Regions from separate parts of the Homo sapiens genome. Here region 2 is linked to region 1. The links are contacts of gene promoters, found by promoter capture Hi-C in blood cells and fetal thymus (Javierre and others, 2016). All regions are on one chromosome and are shown on one strand. Each heading gives the region's core, a stretch centred on a gene start or on the middle of the fragment in contact. The rest is flanking DNA. Distances are from core to core; before and after follow the strand shown.

Region 1 (3,957 bases), core at 789-3,288:
TTATGTATTATGCAGCTCTTTTGTCAAATAAGAATAATTATAAATTTTTTTAATCAACTGAAGGGAGAGAAAACACTGCCAACGTCTTAGAATATGTTCATCAGCTGAGCAGTGAAGATCATGGCTTTGCTTCTTTTTATCTAGTACTCTCCAGTTTGGATTTTTACGTTGTAACATAAACATATTTATATTTAATTATTTGAGATGCATTTTCCCCAATCTTCTGAGATTCTCTAGCAGAATATTTTTAAAGTAAATAAAATTTAAATCCAAGAATCTAATCTAGTCAAAACTAGATAGCTTAAAAAAAAAATCCGTGTGAACAACAATATGGAAAGACCAACTCAGTTAATTTTTGACAACCAAATTGAGTGGATTTGGGAGAGATTTAGAGCAAAAATATTTATGACTAGGTTTAAATATTTGTCTTCCATGAGTAACATAGCAGAGATACTGCATTAAAAAGGTCAACCAGAAGTTTGTTTTTGAGAAATATTACCAATTTTGAACATACTAAATCTTTCTTAGAGTAACAACATACGTTTTAGATAACAGGTAGTAGCTAAGTACAGAACAGGTTTAGAAAAAGTTAATAGTGATGAGAAATGTAAACTTCGTGAACATATTTTCGGGGTAGCATTCATGATAACTCAAGAACTCGAATTTATACGAATTCTGATTTTAAATGAGTATTAAATCTCTAAGACCAAAAGAACATAAAATTATAGCCAACAAACCACACTCTGGTTCGAATTTTCGGAGCATGTTTACTCTACACTGAATAATCGGAAAGCCATTTTTAATGCCACTGGACAATTTCACTATTTAAAAATTTACAGTGTTCCCCGAATGTGCAGGCAGCAGAGTATTTTGGCAACCAACACAGCGAGACCCATTTACCTTTACCTTAGACTCGTAAAGGCTGAGTTACTTCTAGGTATCATTTAGCAACGCAATAAATGTCTGCCTCGAACAGTGAAAATTTCCCAAAGGAGCAGAACAACTTTCATGGGTGGGGCAAAAGGCTGGGAAGGAAGAGAATTCGTTTTGGCTTGCTCCAGCGCTGGAAGAACACTGAGCACCACACTCTCCGCAAAGGCCTAACACAGCAAAGGCGACTGTCAAATCGATCCCTTTTGGGTCTGCTGTACCCGTCCTCTAGGGAATCAAAATAAGGCAAAATAATAAAAAGAGTACAGAGAAGTTTGGCGGCGGCGGGGCGTGGGGGCTTGAGGCATCTCAGAGAGGAGGGCAAAAATCAACAAGAAAATGCCCCCATTTTAAAAATCCTGTCTGCGACCTCGGATGGGAGATTTTGTTTATCCACGGGCAGTTTACTTCTGTCTCCCTGACCCATCTCCACAGGCTCTGGTGCTCGCCGCCACTTTCCGAGCAGATCATTACTCAGCACCGGAGCCGGCGCGCCTCCTCCCGCAGGCGGGAGCGGGGTCTCGGGGAGAGGCGGGAAGAGGCGCGACCGCCCGGGCGCCCAGGTGACCGCGGCCCTCCCCGCGCCCCCGTCCCCGCGCCCCCCGCACCAAGCATCCGGGAGACCCGGAGCCCCCGGGCCGAACCGCGCCGGCCCCCAGGCAGCTGAGGCACTGAAGGGCAGGCTCGGGCACGGGGGTCCTGAGGGTCGGGAGGAGGCCGCGGGGACCCTGTGCTGTCCCCGAGCGCCCCCAGCCCGCGCACGCCCACCTCCCAGCCCCTCTACCCAACTTCACCGCTGCCCCGCCAGCCGGTTCCGCACCGTCCGCCCTCGCCCCGACCCCCGGCCCGCCGCGCCCCCTCACGCCCCCGTTACCTTTCCGTTCTTGGGGCTGCCGTTCAGGAACAGGGTCACCCGCCTCATCGCGCTGCCCCCGCTGGGTCCTGAGTGAGCCGCCACCCTCCCACCTGGTCCTCCTCCCACCTTTTTCTCCTCCCGCCCTTCCCCTCCCTCCACCCACTCGGATTCGCCTCCCTTCGCCACCTTCCTGCCCTTGGGGACACACCACACGCACGCACTCTGTCCCACACCCAAGGTTCGGCCGGTCCTCCTTCCCACCCCGCCCCTAGGCTCCTCAGCCTGCCTGGGGCCCTTCCCCCACCTCTCCGAGACTGACACTCTGCCGTACCAACCAACCCGCGTCACCGGACAGAGTCCAGCCAATCAGCACCCAGTATCGGGCGGGCTCTGGCTAACCTAGCCGGGACGGAGGGAGGGAAGAGACGCTGAAGGCTAGTAGACGGGAAGGGGCATCAGCCAATCAGAGAGGCTCCTGGAGCCGGACGGCGGCTTCCAGCGTTACTGAGCAGGCGCACCCTCTAGTTTAGGTAGCGCTTATCTGCATACGAGGGCGGGGTCTGGGGAAAGGAGGTGGAGCGCTGAAAGGGACCCAAGCACCAGTCAGCCCCTCCTCCAGCGTTAGCCCCGCCCACAAGCCGGCCCAGCTAGGAAACGGCTGCGGTAGGGACGGACTGATTGGGTAAGAGCCAGCTCGTCGCTCTGTTAGGATTGGTTGAATGAGTCTTTTCGAAGTTTGCAGCATCCAATAGAAAGGTGGGAGGCGGAGTTAAAGCGCTAAGAGAAGCGTTACTCCGCGAGACTCTCCTGAAAAGTAGTCCCCGAGGTCACAAGGCAGTGGCAGGTGTCTGTAGTCCTCGGGTTGACTGCAGCTCGCGGTGGTCCCTCTCCGAGCCCAGGAAGCCACTCCAGTGCCGAGGGAGAGGCCTGGGAGCGCTCGGAGTGTGCGCGGACTGGAGAAGGGGGAGGTGGCGGAGTGATTCGTAGAGTAAATTCGGTACCGAGGGGCGGGGTCGGGGATTTGAATCGGTCGGCGGGCGGAGGAGGCGGGTGGAGGAGGCTGCCGGGCAGAGCGCAGGCCAGGATCAGCGCAGGCTGTGAGTCCAGGTCAGCCGTCGGGACCTCGGGCTCCGGGTTCGAAGAGCGGCTCCCGGCTGCGGGTGCTTTGCCAGGAGAGCCCTTCCGGACAGAGGAGCCGGGGTCTGGAAGGAGCGGCCGACGCGACGCTCGCCTGCCACGGGGCTCTGGGAGTAAGCCTGTCTGCCTGGCGGGCCTTCAGGTGCGGCGTGAGAGGTAGGATTGCATCCGCGCTGCCACGGGGCTGTTTCTCCGGGGCATTTCTAGGCACTTTGTTCGGCTTACCCTGCAGCACAGAATTAGTACTCCTGTCAGGAGCTGCTCTGGGTGACCAGGAGTGCATCCGGACCTGTTGAGAGAATTTCTGGAAATGGATAGAGCTGCGTCTTGAGAGGGGTACCCTTATGATTCAGGTTTTCGCTACGGTTGAAAAGCCATGGCTTATCCTTTGGGGTCTGCTTTGGTGCCTGAACAGCAGTTTTCTCCATTTCTTTCTGTTTAATTTGGCTTTAAAAGTACGCGCTTAGAGTAAAAGAATGGTTAGCACAGGGTGGGAAGTGTATTGGGGATGGATGGGAAGGAAGTGGAGATGGTTAATAGGTAGAAAAACAAAGAATGAATAAGATCTAGTATTTGCTAGCACAACAGGGTGGCGGTCCATAATTTAATTGTGCATTTAAACATAACGAAGTATAATTGGATTGTTTATAACAAAAAGGATAAATATTTGAGATAATGGCTACCTCATTTACTTTGATTTGATTATTACGAATTGCATGCCTGTATCAAAATATTTCATGTACCCCATAAATTATACATCTACTGTATACCCACAGAAATTAAAATAAAAAATGAAACCTGTGACGTGTGTTTCTATGCCAGTATGGACTGTATTACAATTCAGTCCTGAATAAGGTACGTGATCGAATCACGTTCATCTTGCTGGTGGGGTTATTTTTCATTGTTTTTCTTCACCTCTTAGATGGATGCCAATTCAAAAGACAAGCCCCCTGAAACCAAGGAGTCTGCAATGAATAATGCTGGTATGTGATGATCTGCCTCCTTGTGAAGTTGAAGGTTTAGACAGAGAGTTG
Region 2 (3,957 bases), core at 612-3,111, 3.2 Mb after region 1:
ACGACAGTCTTGAACCCAGCTGCGGGGCCGCGAGAAGGCGGGCCCGGGAGCCGGCGAGGGCGGGGCCTCCGAGGAAAGGGCCGGGAGCCGACGCGGAGGCGGTGGGCGGGGCGTTAGGGGGCGGGGCCGGGAGCCGCCGAGGGGGCGGTGGGCGGGGTATTCGGGGGGCGGAGCCGGGAGCCTCCCAGGGGGCAGTGGGTGGGACCGGGAGCCGGCCGGCCGGGCCGGGGATGCGGTGAGCCGAGGGCGGGGCCTCAGGGGGCGGGACCGTGGAGAGGGCGGGGCCGGGCCGCTGGCGCTGTCGCCGGCTGCAGTGGCCGCCGCTGGAGACCGCGGGACCTGGCGCTGCAGCGAGGTAGGGGCTCTTCGGGATCTTCCCTTTCGGGGGTGGGAAGTCTTTTCTTCGTCGTGCCAACGGGAGAAGCGGCGAGCTGCTAAAATTTAGAGACGGCTTCGCACTTCTCGCTGTAGCCCGGGCTTTACCCGGGGGATCGATTTTAAAACTCTTTGTCTGGCCCCGTCGTCCTGCCCGCGGGCCGGACGTGGGGCGCCTGCTCTGGGCGTCTGGGGCGGGCGATTGCAAGCTCGCGGTCCATGTCCCCTGCCTCGGAGTGTGGACGTGAACTCCGGGGTGGGCTGGGCTGGGTTTCTACAGAGGCGGGAATTTGTGAGAACTGGGAGAGTGTGGCTGTCGGCAGGGGTCCGTATCACACTGTGGGCGGGGGTCCCGACCCCTGCTGCCTCGGGTACGGGGTAAGCGGCATCTGCCACGCGCCCGCCTCGCGCGCTGTCAGGAGGCGCTGTCCCCGTGGGTAAGCCCGTGCCGTGGGTGCCCTCCAGTCCCTGCAGCCCCAAACACACCTACCCCAGAGGACACCACAGAATGCGGACCCCAAAGCCAGCCGTACCTGCGAGCCCCTCAGCACAGCTGACTTTAATTTGGGATCCCACAATTTGAGCTTTTCAAAAGTTAAGTTTGGCAGATTGGAAGCCCGGGAATAGGGGGCGCTCGGAATGCTGAGTTTTGTTGGTGTTTGTCCTCAGCCTGTTTCTGGGTCACCCTGCAGGGCTCCATCCGTTCAGTCTCACCCCTTGGTAAGCATGTCCTGTCCTGAAGGCTCCATGCTGAAAGTCTAGACCCCATCTTTGCCTACTTTTCAAGGCTTGGCAAAGCACGTGTGTCTTTTGATCCTTATCCCCCATGTAACATAATTCATGTTTTTAAAGATATGTTTTTATTTAAAACCTTCCCCCTATATTTTCATTCCCATAAATACGAATTGGTTGATTTTACTTGTGAACTCCTTTAGGCATTTAGTAATAAAGGTTATAATTAGGAAAACTGAAAGATATTCATCAGGTAAACATGATCCTCCTTAACAAATTTGCTGCTCGTAAAAGGCAGCAGATGGGAAATCAGGCAAGCTTGGTTTTAAAACGTTTCTGCCTCTGAGAAGGTTGAACTATTAATATTATATTTATTGTTCATTCCAAGTCTAAAATGCTAGCAATGAACTCACATTCCTTTTTTGCTAGACAGTCATACCTGTTGACTTGAGATAATAAGAAAATTCTCCTCATCCCCAGAACTGAAGAAAATTCTTTCCAATTGTTCTCACCTTACCTATCCCCAGGGAAAGGAGATAAGTCTCAGAGTTGTTGGGATTCTAAATATTTTGTTAAGCAGAAATTCCTGCTGGTCCTTAACAAACTCTGAGTACTTTGCTCTGGAATTATCAGTTCTTTTTCAAAATGTGAAATTATGAATTGCCTATTACATACAATATTCCACATCTCACGTTAATATTCATTTAAAAGCATTGTGAGGCCGGGTGTGGTGGCTCACACCTGTAATCCTAGAACATCCGGAGGCCGAGGTGGGAGGATTGCTTGAGCTCAAGAGTTCAAGACCATGCTGGGCAACATGGCGAAACCTCATGTCTACAAAAAATGAAAAAATTAGCCGGCATGGTAGTGAGCACCTGTGGTCTCAGCTACTTGGTAGGCTGAGGTGGGAGGATCACTTGATCCTGGGAGGCAGAGGTTGCAGTGAACTGAGACCACCCCACTGCACCCCAGCCTGGGTGACAGAGTGAGACCCTGTCTCAAAAAATAAAAATCATTTTGTAATTGTGAGTAAAAAGAAACAAATCTTTAAAAGATTAAAAACAAGAAAAAATTAGTATATGTTAGTGATTACCATTTTGACTTCCCTGGAGGGACAATAAACCCAAAAGATAAAACCAAAATCTAGTTATTAATAGTCACCGACACCATAAGAACTAGAAGGCACCATCTGAAGCTTAAAAGGAAGTTTAAAAACATGTTAAATTCAGACAATAACTTTGCACAGTGGTTTGCAAACATCAGTAAACCCAAACCCTCAAGTGATTCCTATGGAAAGACACTGACACTCAGATCAAGAAATTTAAATACAAATTCATGGGCTAACTAAAAAAATAAGCAGATCAAGTATCTCCAGCATCAACTGTGAATACACACACGTTAGGTTAATTTAAAAAATGACCCACTGTTTTTTACAATCTTCCAATGCCTGTATGCTTCCAAAAAGGCACAGCTGGCATACTTTTTGCTTCTAAAGGAGGTAAACTTTAAAAACTGACCCGCAGTTACAGACCGGCACTTAGAGGAGTTAACTCAAACAGGTGAGTGACTCACCAATTACTCATTTTTTCTGCAGATTATTTACCTACTAAGTGCAAGACTGGACTCATAGCTTTAGCTCACTCCTAGTGAAAACACTGCACATAGGATCTATAAATGGAGGCTGTGTCATCAAGACCTCAGAAGTAGGGGCCGGCATATTTCTTAGACACTGATGAAACAGAAACATCTCTCAGAAGAACCATAAAGACATGAGTAGCTCTGTGTTAAAACACATCATTTATTTTGAAGGGAAAAAGGAACGCAGAAAGAACAATAGAGAGGAACTCAGAGCATTTCCTCTGTGGCTTCCCCCTTTGTGGTGCCAATTTAAAACAAAATTATTGTCTAATGATACTAATTTTTAAATAATAGTCATGTAATGTGAGGTTATAGAAGTAGTTATTCTGAAGGAGATAGTCACTCATACATGAACTGTCCAGGTTTCCAATAATAAAAACATCACTCTATTCCTATTCATGTATTTGTTCAATAAACACCCTAGCACAGTTTTAGGATTAGGAATATGAAGATAAATAGTTTAACATCTGACTTTAAGAAGCTGATCTAGTTGGGGAAATCAACCCAGAGATAATTATGCAGTTGGTATGATGATAGATGTCTGCTCGTAGTGCTATCGGACCTCTGAAAAAATCAGTGCCTGAAATTAGTATTAAAGGATGACTAAGTTTTAGCCAGAAGTGGGAGGAGACTGCTCCAGGTAGAGGGAACAAACATTAACAAAATCATGGAGGTAAAGGCCAGGCACGGTGGCTCACGCCTATAATCCCAGCACTTTGGGAGGCCAAGGTGGGAGGATTGCTTGAACCCAGGAGTTTGAGACCAGCTTGGGCAATATAGTGAGACCACATTTCTCCAAAAAAAAAAAAAAAAAAAAAAAAAAAAGCCAGGTGAGGTGGTGCACACCTGTTGTCTCAGCTACTTGGGAGGCTGAGGTGTGAGGATCTCTTGAGTCCAGGAGGTGGAGGTTACAGTGAGCTGAGATTGCACCATTGCACTACAATCTGGGCAACAGGGTGAGACCCTGTCTAAAAAAAAAAAAAAATTAAACTAAAAAAATTTTTTAAATGGTGGAGATAAAGTACCAAAATATGAGGCCTAGAAAGATATAGAATAAGACTAAAGAAAGAGGACGGGGTCACACCATAAAAAGTCTTGTAAAGGCAGGGGGAGCCACTGGAAACTTTGGTGGGAGAATAACAGGATCAGATCTGCTTTAAGCAGCTTACTCTGAGGCTTCAGTGAAGAATGGACTTAGGAGGGTAGGAGGCA

Evidence for each region. The method cuts DNA at HindIII sites, captures the fragments that hold promoters and counts their contacts. A CHiCAGO score of 5 or more calls a contact.
Region 2: a fragment that was not itself captured here is called in contact with the fragment with the promoter of KCTD9 in region 1 in 3 of 17 cell types (fetal thymus, naive CD8 T cells and total CD4 T cells); the score reaches 6.0 in fetal thymus.

What each region holds. Positions count from the first base shown.
Region 1 is chr8:25,456,395-25,460,351 of GRCh38, forward strand. KCTD9 (potassium channel tetramerization domain containing 9) reads right to left here and starts at 2,039. Exons shown (of 12, transcript NM_017634.4): 1 at 1,805-2,039. The coding sequence starts at 1,852. It overlaps CDCA2 (cell division cycle associated 2), which reads left to right and starts at 2,839. Exons shown (of 15, transcript NM_152562.4): 1 at 2,839-3,079; 2 at 3,846-3,906. The coding sequence starts at 3,846. RefSeq lists enhancers at 1,088-1,137, 2,508-2,737 and silencers at 1,748-1,797, 2,158-2,367. The HindIII fragment of the contact is 4,823 bases long and covers 1-3,957 here.
Region 2 is chr8:28,622,456-28,626,412 of GRCh38, forward strand. It overlaps a transcript of EXTL3 not described here. Among named protein-coding and RNA genes, the nearest start is that of EXTL3-AS1, 77 kb to the right of the region's middle. RefSeq lists silencers at 1-121, 43-302. The HindIII fragment of the contact is 877 bases long and covers 1,424-2,300 here.